2 separate regions of the Homo sapiens genome follow, and region 1 is linked to region 2. Evidence: promoter capture Hi-C in human tissues and cell types (Jung and others, 2019). All regions are on one chromosome and are shown on one strand. Each heading gives the region's core, a stretch centred on a gene start or on the middle of the fragment in contact. The rest is flanking DNA. Distances are from core to core; before and after follow the strand shown. Region 1 overlaps TPTEP2-CSNK1E (TPTEP2-CSNK1E readthrough). Region 2 holds the start of SLC16A8 (solute carrier family 16 member 8).

Evidence for each region. Contacts are between HindIII fragments. The study calls those that stand out against the background at their distance.
Region 1: a fragment that was not itself captured here is called in contact with the fragment with the promoter of SLC16A8 in region 2 in 4 of the 25 tissues and cell types used here (IMR-90 fibroblasts, aorta, dorsolateral prefrontal cortex and 1 more).

Annotation. Positions count from the first base shown.
Region 1 is chr22:38,299,790-38,305,247 of GRCh38, reverse strand. It overlaps TPTEP2-CSNK1E (TPTEP2-CSNK1E readthrough), which reads left to right. Exons shown (of 15, transcript NM_001289912.2): 7 at 2,000-2,110; 8 at 2,239-2,387; 9 at 4,296-4,524; 10 at 5,183-5,353. It overlaps CSNK1E (casein kinase 1 epsilon), which reads left to right. Exons shown (of 11, transcript NM_152221.3): 3 at 2,000-2,110; 4 at 2,239-2,387; 5 at 4,296-4,524; 6 at 5,183-5,353. Among named protein-coding and RNA genes, the nearest start is that of CSNK1E, 15 kb to the left of the region's middle. RefSeq lists an enhancer at 5,173-5,458. The HindIII fragment of the contact is 4,513 bases long and covers 1-4,073 here.
Region 2 is chr22:38,079,942-38,085,939 of GRCh38, reverse strand. It overlaps SLC16A8 (solute carrier family 16 member 8), which reads left to right and starts at 1,756. Exons shown (of 6, transcript NM_013356.3): 1 at 1,756-1,952; 2 at 2,579-2,898; 3 at 3,059-3,280; 4 at 3,908-4,051; 5 at 4,261-5,100. The coding sequence starts at 3,067. It overlaps BAIAP2L2 (BAR/IMD domain containing adaptor protein 2 like 2), which reads left to right. Exons shown (of 14, transcript NM_025045.6): 13 at 208-254; 14 at 565-1,040. The coding sequence ends at 640. It overlaps LOC105373027 (a long non-coding RNA gene), which reads right to left. Exons shown (of 3, transcript XR_938249.3): 3 at 5,573-5,998. RefSeq lists enhancers at 1,491-2,272, 4,613-5,394 and a silencer at 3,248-3,297. The HindIII fragment of the contact is 9,296 bases long and covers 1-5,930 here.

The DNA.
Region 1 (5,458 bases), core at 568-3,067, 220 kb before region 2:
ACATTTAATCTTTTTCCTTTCTTTCGTGTTTAAATCTGTATTGTCCAGTCTTGTTGCCTGTTTTGATATGGAAACAAGTAGAACTGTGCTTGCACTCTTCTTTTTTTTTTTTTTTTTTTTTTTTTTGAGCTGGAGTTTCACTCCGTCACCCAGGCTAGCGTGCAATGGCACAATCTCGGCTCACTGCAACCTCCGCCTCCTGGGTTCAAGTGATTCTCCTGCCTCAGCCTCCCAAGTAGCTGGGATTACAGATGCCTGCCACTGCGCCCGGCTAATTTTTGTATTTTTGGTACAGACAGGGTTTCACCACCTTGGCTGGGCTGGTCTCGGACTCCTGACCTTGTGATCCACCCGCCTCAGCCTCCCAAAGTATTGGGATTACGGGCGTGAGCCACTGTGCCTGGCCTCGGGTAGAATGTTTTCAAGGTGCACTCGTGTCGTAGCGTGTATCGGTACTTTATTCCTCTTTATTGCTGAATAATATTCCGCCGCATGGAGGCACTGCATTCCATTCATCCTTGCATCTGTGACAGATGTTTGTTGTTTCCACCCTCTGGCTGCTGTGAGGAGTGCACCCCTGGGACCAGGGTCATTGTGTGAAGCAGGCATCCTTTCCTCTTCACTGCCGCCTGGGATTCCCTGGTGACTGCGCCACTGTTCCTGTTCTTCTGCTGCTGAGCACTTGGGCTGTTTGCTCCTGTGTCCATCCTTGTCCTGTCCCCCTGGTGCACACGTGTTTCTGAAGGATGTACACTCAGGAGTGGGGTTGCTTGGGCGAGCGTTTGTTTATGTTCAGCTTCACCCAAGAGGTGCACAGGGGCTGTGCCAACTCACACCCACACCTTTATTTCTTATATACAAACTTTTCCTCTACTTGAGATTTCTCCTGGTTGTGGTGTGAGCCATGGTGTCTTTTCTCAGGTGGCCAGCCGGTTGTTCAGGGACATTATTAATGAACAGTCTCATCTTTTCCTCTGATGTGAGGTCCTGCCTTTCTCCTGTCTTGAACTCCTCCTGAGGCTGTGTCCCTGGGGGTTGTTCTGGCCTGTTTGTGTCCTGTTGCGACACTGTCCTACTCCTCCTGCTGGGCTCGCTGCTGGCCCCAGGAAGGAGACACCCTGTCGCCCAGCCTAGCCCCAGCCCTTCATCTCATCCACCCATACAGCCAGGGAAACTGAGGCAAGGTACACTTTGGGCTTGGTCTTTCTTGTGACTTCTTGAGTTGGGCAGTGGGCCCAGGCAGAGAGCGGGGCCTTGGTGTGTGTGAGGGTATTTTCTTAGAGCCCCTTGAGAAGCCAGGAGTGGACTGGGGGAGACGGGGAGGTGCAGGCAGGACCTCTGACCTATGCTGGAGGCCAGCAGAGCCGGGGTTGATCTCAAGGCCGCCATTTACAGGTCAGGTGACCTTGAGCTGGGTCTCTAGCTGGGTCTCTGTTTTCTCATCTCTACAAGGGGGTTGAGAATCGAATGAGACACTGGATTAGAATGTGCAGGGCTGCCTCTGAAGGCATCAGCATTGACTGAGGGGTTGCTGCGGCTGTCCCATCCTCATCCTGTAGGCCAGGGTGGTCCTGGCTTGTTCTGGTGTGTTCGGCAGCCCAGCCCCATTGGGCCTCTTCTGCACGTGCCACCATCTCAACCCGACAGACCTCACTGCCTGAATTTGCTCTAGGACTCAGCCCCCTCCCTTAGGTGGTCTGTGAGCCTTTTGCATACCTGACCCTTGCCCCACTCACATCGGGCCTTCTTGTCGCCCCAACCTGTGGCCCTGGGTAGCCCTTGTGTGTCACCTCTGTCCCTCACAGCGCTGACCTTCTTTCCCCTCAGGAACCCTTTGCCGGGGCTCCTTTGCCCCCTTCCCAGCCTCCCCCAAGAGCTCCTCAAGGGCAGATGGCCCCGGGCCCGGCACACGCCAGATCTCAGAAATGCTTAGTGGGGCGCCTGGGACTGCCTGGCCTTTGAGGGTGACCCTGGTCCCTTGCCTCCCTGCCCCGGGCAGGTGCCAACATCGCCTCTGGTGAGGAAGTCGCCATCAAGCTGGAGTGTGTGAAGACAAAGCACCCCCAGCTGCACATCGAGAGCAAGTTCTACAAGATGATGCAGGGTGGCGGTGAGCGCAGGGTGGGCGGCGGCGGGCGCCGGGTGGGTGGCGGTGGGCAGCCATGAGCACAGGGTGGGCCGGGCGTGGCTGGCTGCCTGCCTCTGACCCCTGACAGAGGCCCTCTGCTTGACCCCCAGTGGGGATCCCGTCCATCAAGTGGTGCGGAGCTGAGGGCGACTACAACGTGATGGTCATGGAGCTGCTGGGGCCTAGCCTCGAGGACCTGTTCAACTTCTGTTCCCGCAAATTCAGCCTCAAGACGGTGCTGCTCTTGGCCGACCAGATGGTGAGTCCCCGTCCCCTCCATCCCCAGCCAGATGCCTGTGGGCCCAGGATACCAGCCCTGCCTCCTGCCCCCAGAGGATGCCAGAGGATGGGCCTGGGCCAGGGGACCTTGTCCACTGGCTATAGAATTGTAGGTGTTTATTTATTTTTTGAGGCGGAGTCTCACTCTGTCGCCCAGGCTGGAGCGCAGTGGTGCGATCTCAGCTCGTTGCAACATCCGCCTCCCAGGTTCACGCGATTCTCCTGCCTCAGCCTCATGAGTAGCTGGGATTACAGGCACCTGCCACCACGCTGGGCTAATTTTTGTATTTTTAGTAGAGACAGAGTTTTACCAAGTGATCCGCCCATCTTAGCCTCTCAAAGTGCTGGGATTACAGGCGTGAGCCACCGTGCCCAGCCAAGTTGTTTATTTAAAATGTGATTTCAGGCCCAACTCCAGACCTGCCGAGTCAGGGCCTGGGACTCTGCCTGGGGTAGTTTTATTTATTTATTTCAAAAATATCATTTAATTGTAAGAAATAGAGATGGGGGTCTCACTGTGTTGACCAGGCTGGTCTCAAACTCCTGGCCTTGAGCAGTCTTCCCATCTTGGCCTCCCAAGATGGGAATTAACACGGGATCACAGGCATGATCCACCACGTCTGGCCTGCCCTGGGTAATGTAAAGCCTGCGGTCGGTCACACAGACCTGGTCCTGTTCCAGACCAGTGACCGTAGGTGAACGCCGAACCTCTCTGAGCCTCAGTGGCCTCATGTGAGAGTCTCTCCTTTGTTGGTTGTTGAGGGGATTAGGTGAGATACCATTCAGCGCCTTGCCAAAACAGGCCCCTCTAACAGGCTGTTGTTAAGTACTAAGCCCTTCATCAGCATAGGGAGGAAAGCTTCTTAAAAATACAAAACTGTAGAATTTTGAACTTGGAATGGAATGTGGAGATCTCGTACAGGGGTTTTAATCTTGGTCTGCAAAAGCCCTGCGATGTAGGCTGAAGGTGTGTGAGCAGAGGGTCGCCAGAGCCCCTCATGGTGTGAAACTCAAGAAAGGTGCAGGAGATGTTGAGCTGTGCTGAACCTGGGGCCAGAGCCAGAGGCCACGGCATGTGGATGGATATTAGTTTGAGTTTTAAAAACTCGACTGAAAAGGTGGCTCAAGTCTGTAATCCCAGCACTTTGGGAGGCCGAGGCAGGCGGATCTCCTGAGATCGGGAGTTTGAGACCAGTCTGACCATCATGGTGAAACGCCATCTCTGCTAAAAATACAAAAAATTAGCCAGGTGTGGTGGCGCGTGCCTATAGTCCCAGCTATTCGGGAGGCTGAGGCAGGAAAATCACTTGAACCCTGAAGGCAGAAGTTGCAGTGAGCCGAGATTTTGCCACTGCACTCCAGCCTGGGCAACAGACCGAGACTCCATCTCAAAAAAAAAAATATCAAAGGAAAGAGGGCCATGTGCCTGTCTGAGTTTGGCATCCTTCGGAAGCCCTGTCTTTTGTGTTCTGCCTCTGTCACCTCTTCCTGGTCTAGGCTTCCCCCATGTTCCCTGCCTGCCCCTCGCCCACATCTGTTGCCTCTCTGGCTCCCTAAGTCCTGTGAGTGTGGGGCCGGGCAGGCAAGCCTTCCATGGGGAACCAGTTGCCTTTCTAGCAGACTCTTCATTTCTGGATCTTCCCATTAGCTTTCCTGCAATACTCTCTTTCTCTGTCTCACAGCCAACTTGGTGAACTCCCCCTTTAGAGTTCATCCTGATGTCACATTTTCCAGGAGGCCTTCTCTGGCCTGCCCCTTAGTTATCCTTCATGGTCGAAGGCAGGCCTTTCTCCCTCTGCCTTTCCACCTCTGTGGCCCCAGCCCCTGCCTGGCCCAGAGTGCTAGGCAAGGGCCCCTCTGTTGAACAAATGGCCCCCCTCCTCCCCAGATCAGCCGCATCGAGTATATCCACTCCAAGAACTTCATCCACCGGGACGTCAAGCCCGACAACTTCCTCATGGGGCTGGGGAAGAAGGGCAACCTGGTCTACATCATCGACTTCGGCCTGGCCAAGAAGTACCGGGACGCCCGCACCCACCAGCACATTCCCTACCGGGAAAACAAGAACCTGACCGGCACGGCCCGCTACGCTTCCATCAACACGCACCTGGGCATTGGTGAGGGAGCCAGGCCTGGAGCAGTGTGCACCCGGGGCCACTGGCTGGGGCCCAGCTCTCTGGAGCCCTCTCACCCCCTACCCTGATGGAGGCCCCCAGGCTCTTTTCTAGTGAGAAAGTCCCCACCCCGTCTGCCCCCAAGCTCGTGCTTATTCCGTGTCCTTGCACAGTCGGGTCTTCCCCTTCGTAAGCCAAGCTGTGTGTGCCGGGCGCCTTCCCTGGCCCTGCTTCCTCCTCCGCCCTGTTGGTGCAGGCTGGAAGATACAGGCTCAGAGGTTTAACATGGGTTGCTTAAGGTCATGCAGCTTAGCTAATGCCAAAGCTGGACTTGACCCCGGCCCTGTCTGATGCTGAAGCTTGTGACCTCTCCACGGGGTGGGCCAGGCAAGGGGGCAGTAGGTGCCCTCTCATAGTCATTGAATGATTAAGTGCCTGAACTGGAAAAACTAGGCCCAAATTAAGTTGAGAAGGCCCTGCCTCAGGCTTCTTCTCTGTAGGAGGAGGATAATAGCAGTGCCTGTTTAAAATGCGTGCAGTGAGCAACATCCGACGTGGGGGCAGGAGGGTCCTGGTGCATTGTGAGGAGCATGACCCAGAGGATGAGTTAGGGGCCTGAGTGGACCCCTGTCCCTCACCTAGTCTTTGACTCTCTGTGCAGAGCAAAGCCGTCGAGATGACCTGGAGAGCCTGGGCTACGTGCTCATGTACTTCAACCTGGGCTCCCTGCCCTGGCAGGGGCTCAAAGCAGCCACCAAGCGCCAGAAGTATGAACGGATCAGCGAGAAGAAGATGTCAACGCCCATCGAGGTCCTCTGCAAAGGCTATCCCTGTGAGTAGCCCAGTGGGAGGGGACATGCCTGGGGGCCCCTGAGGCACTGTCTAAGGGAAAGGTGAGGCCATACAAAGCCCACGCTGGGGCTAGGCGCGGTGGTTC
Region 2 (5,998 bases), core at 507-3,006:
TGGTGCTCTGGCCTAGGGGTTTCTCACTTCTGCAACCCACAGAATTCTGGGCTTCAGAACGTCAGGGTCTCATTTTCCAGGAGCCTGGCATGGCAGGGGCTCTCTGGCCCAGTCCTCTGCCCTTGGGCATGGGGAGAGGGAGGGGAGGAGCAAGGGATTGCTTGCCCCTCTCCCCACCAAACCAGCCCTTCCCCACCCCCACTGCAGAAACTGATGTCCTCAGAGCAGTACCCACCACAGGAGCTCTTCCCGAGGTGAGTCCTCACATGGGGGCCCAAACAGTGAGGAGGGTGGCAGGTGCGGCGGCACACACTTGTAGTCCCAGCTACTAGGGAGACTGGGGCAGGAGGATCTCTTGATTCCAACAGTTCAACATCAGCTTGAGCAACACTGTGAGACCCTATCTCTTAAAAGAAAAAAAAAGATGAAGCGGGGCAAGGAGTGGATGGAGACCAAATAGGGGCAGGAGGCAGGACCCAGCTCAGTTGCCCAGCTGCCTTCCTGAGCCATGGCCAGGTGGGGATCATCTGCCCTTCTCACCCCATTCTCTCTCTCCTCCTACAGGGGCACAAATCCTTTTGCCACTGTCAAGCTTCGTCCCACCATCACCAATGACCGCTCAGCACCCCTCATCCGCTGAGGCGGGGTCCGAGGTCGTACCCCACAGTGCACCTGCCCAGGGGCTGTTCAGAGCTGGCAATGGCAGCGACAGCAGCAACAGCAGCAGATCCAAGAAGCGGGTCCCTGAGACGGGGGGTGGCTGCCCTCCCCAGACCACCCCGGCAGCCTGAGCAGCTCCAAAGCACTGGCTTGGGGTCCGAGACCTTCAAAGTAAAGCAGGCGGAATGGGGGGACAGGACAATTTCTCCCCCTCCAGGGGCTCCAGGACTCTCCCTGGGGGGCCCACCTCTTGCCCCCTAACCTCTTTCCCCCTTTTCTGCCCCCGTGGGGAGGAGCCCCTTGTACCTGCTCCGTGCCCAACACATGCCCTCTCTGTACATCTTTTGTAAATGATGAGAAATAAAGGAAGTGGACGCAAAGTGATGCGGCAGCAGGACTGGTGGTGTCTTATTTGGGGGACAGGGCAGGGGGTGAGGGATAGAGACTCCCCCATTGGAGAATGGGGTCTAGGGGGTACTGAGGTCCTGGCTGTTCCCCGGGAAGCCATCTCACTCCCAGCCCCTTGTTTGTTTGTTTGGAGAACTCTTTAGGGCTGCCCCAAAGCCCTCGCGCTGCAGCCCCCATCTCCACCTGCTCTCATTTCGACCTGTGGGTTTCCTAGGAAGTAGCGGCTGCTCGGGTCAGGGGAGAGGTGGCAGTGGCCAAGGGCTGGGACCACCAGCAAGCTGCCCTCAGGCGGCCTGGACACAGCACCCTTTGTTTTGGCCCCTCCCCCCCCCACATTCCCAGGCACAGGCGTGGATTAGCTTCATTCTAGAGAAAGCTGCCAGCCCCTCCTGGAATGTGGCCTGGGGCGGGGGGTTGGGGCGGGGGCAGATGAGGCACTGAGGTGATTAGAACCGTTGGGGTCTCTTCAGGGCAGGGCTGTGCCCCCAGCACCAGACTAGGACCCCCTGGGCAAGGTCTCTGTGTCTACCACCCCAGGCTCCAGGAGGCACAGGGATTCTCTTCCTCCCTCCTGGACTGGCTTGGGACAGGGAGCCCACCGCCGAGGCCCAGCCTGGCCTGGGGCTCCCAGTCTCTTCTCCCCTCCTGGACAAAAGCCTCTTAGCAGGGGTGAGGTGTGGTGGGGGCACACACTCTAAGCTCCAGGCCTGGGGCAGGGAGCGTCAGGCGGGAGTCGGCCAGAGGCTCAGCCCAGGCTGGTGGGAAGCTGGGGTGTCTGGCAGCCCCCATCCGGGTAAGCTTCACCGGGAGCTGCGGCGGCGGCCCCTCCCTGCAGGCCTCAGGAGATGTGAGGCTGGACCCCCAAACCCACGAGGCAGGCTCAGGTGAGTGTGATGTGAGGGCTGCCTGGGATCACCCTCCTGTCTCCACCTTCAAGTGGCTGCCCCTGTGACAAGAGGACAACAGGCAGGAAAAGCCACAACCTGGTCCTAGTGGAGGAGGGGCAGAGTCCCGGATACCCTGGGGGTGGTGGCACTGCCCAGTGCCAGGAGGGACACTCCAGGCAGGAGGGCAGGAGGCTATCCCCAGCCCCCGGCTCCTGGTGCACCTGTCTCTGAGTACACCCTCCTCATCTGTTATGGGGGCGCTTGTAACTGCTGTGAGGGCCCCGGGTGGAGCCCCAGGAATGAGACAGGCTTTGGAGCCATTCTTTTCATATAGAGGGTTTGAGGTTTGGAGGGCAGAAGGCCACTCTCTCAGTGCTGCTAAGGTTCCTACCTGTCTGGCAGAAGCCAGAGACCTGACTCCTCTCCCGCAAGATTCCCAGCTGGCCTCGGGGTGATCAATCACCCATCTTACATCGGAGGAAAGGGAGGTTGGGAGAGGGGAGGCGACCGGCCCAAGTCAGGGAGGGAATCCATGGCTGAGCTGAGATGCATGGGAACTCAGCTCCCCTGGCTGATATCTGTTGAAAGTGGCTTTTGTCCCCTTAATGTTCTAATGACAATAGTCATTTGTGATCACTGAGAAACATTAGGAACATGGCGGAAGGCTAAAGAGGAAAATCACGCACAGCGGCCCTTTGCAGCCGGCATCTGCCCCTCTGCTGTTTGTTCTGTTGTCCCGAGACCCTCACGCGTACGGGGCGACTTTGGTGCTGGACGCCCACCTCCAGGCACATACCTGCTCCACTTCCCGACGCCTTCCACCTGAGGCCCTGAGGGGCCAGCAGTTGTCCTTCAGAGGGAGCCTGCAGAGGTGCAGAGTCAGGTGGGACCCGTCGTCCTCCCCTCGTCCTTCAGCGCCCTTTGCAGGAGAAGGAGACTTGGGGTGAGAGTCCTACCTCCGTTTCCCCTTTTGGTTCCCAGACCTGAGCCACCCTCACGTGGGTAGCCCTGTGCCTCAGTTTCCCCATGCTTCGTCTCCATCCCCCTCCTTCTCTAGGCTGCTGGCCCAGCCCCTCCCTCTTGTCCCCGCCCCCTCCCAACAGAGGCAGCGATGGGCGCTGGCGGCCCCCGGCGGGGCGAGGGCCCCCCAGACGGCGGCTGGGGCTGGGTGGTGCTGGGCGCCTGCTTTGTGGTCACCGGCTTCGCCTACGGCTTCCCCAAAGCCGTGAGCGTCTTCTTCCGCGCGCTCATGCGCGACTTCGACGCCGGCTACAGCGACACGGCCTGGGTGTCCTCCATCATGCTAGCCATGCTCTACGGCACGGGTCAGTGTCCCCGCCCGGCCCTCCGCCTCCCCGGGACCCCTGGGATCCGGAACCAGGAGACACCCGAGCCCCTGAGCATCCCCCTGACCCTCGGGGTGGCCCCCGAAGTCCCTTCCTGCCTGTGGGAACCCTGGCACCAGAAAGAGGGGAAGAGAGGGCGGGAGGGAGACAGCGGCCAGAGGCGGGGCCGGCCCAGGGGGCTGCCCTGCGAGCTCAGAGGGCCCCTTCTAAGACCACACCCGCCCATTGTAGAGGCAGGAAAGCTGAGAGCCACAGAAGCACTCCCCCTCCCCGCAGCCCTGACCTGTAGGTGGGGGCTTGCTGGAGTTCCCATCCTGGGAGGCGGGGCTGCGGAGGAATCCCAGTCTGTGCCAGGGCGGGACTTGGAGGCTGTGAAGGTTAAAGGGGTGCGGAAGCCCCCGCTCCGCTTGGGGTTTGGGTTCGCAGGATGGGGTGCTCTGGGCCTTGCCCTCGCAGGATGCTGTCTCTTTGGCCTGTCCCCTCCAAGCTGTGTGACCTTGGCCAGACACTGCCCTCCTCTCTGTGTCCCTGAGCCGGAGGTGACCTTATTCCTTAGAGGACTCAAGCCATCCCGGGACCCGGGTGGTGACCCTGCCCTGCCCACAGGCCCCGTGTCCAGCATCCTCGTGACCCGCTTTGGCTGTCGCCCGGTGATGCTGGCGGGTGGGCTGCTGGCTTCCGCGGGCATGATCCTAGCTTCCTTTGCCACGCGCCTCCTGGAGCTCTACCTGACCGCTGGGGTGCTCACAGGTGAGGGCCCCCTGGTCTCCTCTCCGCTGGGTTGGGGGTCGGGGGTTCTTGCTGCAAGATCTGTCCTCGGTTTCCCTATGAGGGACAGTCTTCGAAGTCCCTCGGCTGGGTTCCCGGATCTGCTGGGTTCCCGGGCCTGGCCCCTCCCTCCTGTGGGGGCCAGGGAGGGGCTCTCCGGGGACCCCGGCACAGCACCGCCTCGCCCGCAGGCCTGGGCCTGGCCCTCAACTTCCAGCCGTCGCTCATCATGCTGGGGCTGTACTTCGAGCGGCGGCGGCCTCTGGCCAACGGGCTGGCGGCGGCGGGCAGCCCCGTGTTCCTGTCCGCGCTGTCGCCGCTCGGCCAGCAGCTGCTGGAGCGCTTCGGCTGGCGCGGCGGCTTCCTGCTGCTCGGCGGGCTCCTGCTGCACTGCTGCGCCTGCGGGGCTGTCATGAGGCCGCCGCCCGGGCCGGGCCCGCGACCGCGCAGGGACAGCGCCGGCGACCGCGCCGGGGACGCTCCGGGCGAGGCGGAGGCTGACGGTGCGGGGCTGCAGCTGCGCGAGGCATCCCCCAGGGTCCGGCCCCGCCGGCGCCTGCTGGACTTGGCAGTGTGCACCGACCGCGCCTTCGCCGTGTACGCCGTCACCAAGTTCCTGATGGCGCTCGGGCTCTTCGTCCCCGCCATCCTGCTGGTGAACTACGCCAAGGACGCGGGCGTGCCCGACACCGACGCCGCCTTCCTGCTGTCCATCGTGGGCTTCGTGGACATCGTGGCGCGCCCGGCGTGCGGCGCCCTGGCGGGCCTGGCGCGTCTGCGGCCGCACGTCCCGTATCTGTTCAGCCTGGCCCTGCTGGCCAATGGGCTCACAGACCTGAGCAGCGCACGCGCGCGCTCCTACGGCGCCCTCGTCGCCTTCTGCGTCGCCTTCGGCCTCTCCTACGGCATGGTGGGCGCGCTGCAGTTCGAGGTGCTCATGGCGGCTGTGGGCGCGCCCCGCTTCCCCAGTGCGCTGGGCCTGGTGTTGCTCGTGGAGGCCGCGGCTGTGCTCATCGGACCGCCCTCTGCCGGTGCGCCCCGAAGGAAGAGGGGGTGGCGAGCCTAGTGCCCCTTAGACCCAGGGAAGCTCCATCCCCCTGTCTCAGATGGAACTTCCAGGGATGAGGGGAAGGGGCAGTCGGGTGGGTGGACTCCCCTTCACGGCCAGTTAGTCCCTCCTCCAAGCCGGACCGCCCGCTCTGGGTGAGGACAGAAAAGCCCAGGAAGGTGCAGGGAAGAAAGCAACACTGGTAGCTGGCCAGATCTGCCATCCCAAGCAGTTGGCACAAGGCCATCTGGAGCGCAGGTGCTTATTCTCATTTTGCAGATGAGGAAACTGAGGCACAAAGCCTTAGCGCAAGTTGCAGCCCCAGAATGAGAGCCTCAGTGTACCTGCTGCTAAATGCCCACGCCTTTAGAATGGTGCATCTAGAATGGTGACTGGAATGGGGACAGTATCTTTGGGAAACTGGTGTTGGGGCCAGAAACAGAGTGGGGGTGCTCAGCGGGCAGATGGGGAGAAGCACTGGTGTCTTTCACTGTGCAGATGGCCTGCTGGCACTTGTCACCGTCACCCTTAGGAAGTCATCGTCATGAGGGTGGTCAGGGAAGGCTTCCTGGAATATCCCCCAGGTGAAGGCACAGCATGGATGGGCAGGGCTTGTTGGGGGGGAACAGCGTCCTTATGCAAGCAAGGCAGGAACCAAAATTGGAAAGGTGGGAGTGGGGGACATGAGGGTTTTCCTGGGTTGTCAAGTTATCTTGAAACAGCAAGGGAGCCTGCCTTTGAGTCCCAGAGGCTAGAGGGCTGTGAGATGGTGCAGTAACCAGGGAGGACACCTTGCGGGGGCCGCAGGCTGCACTGAGATGGGGTGAGCTGCTCGTCCTTCCTTCAGGGCTGGGCTAATCGAGTGCCCTCACTGAGCTCTG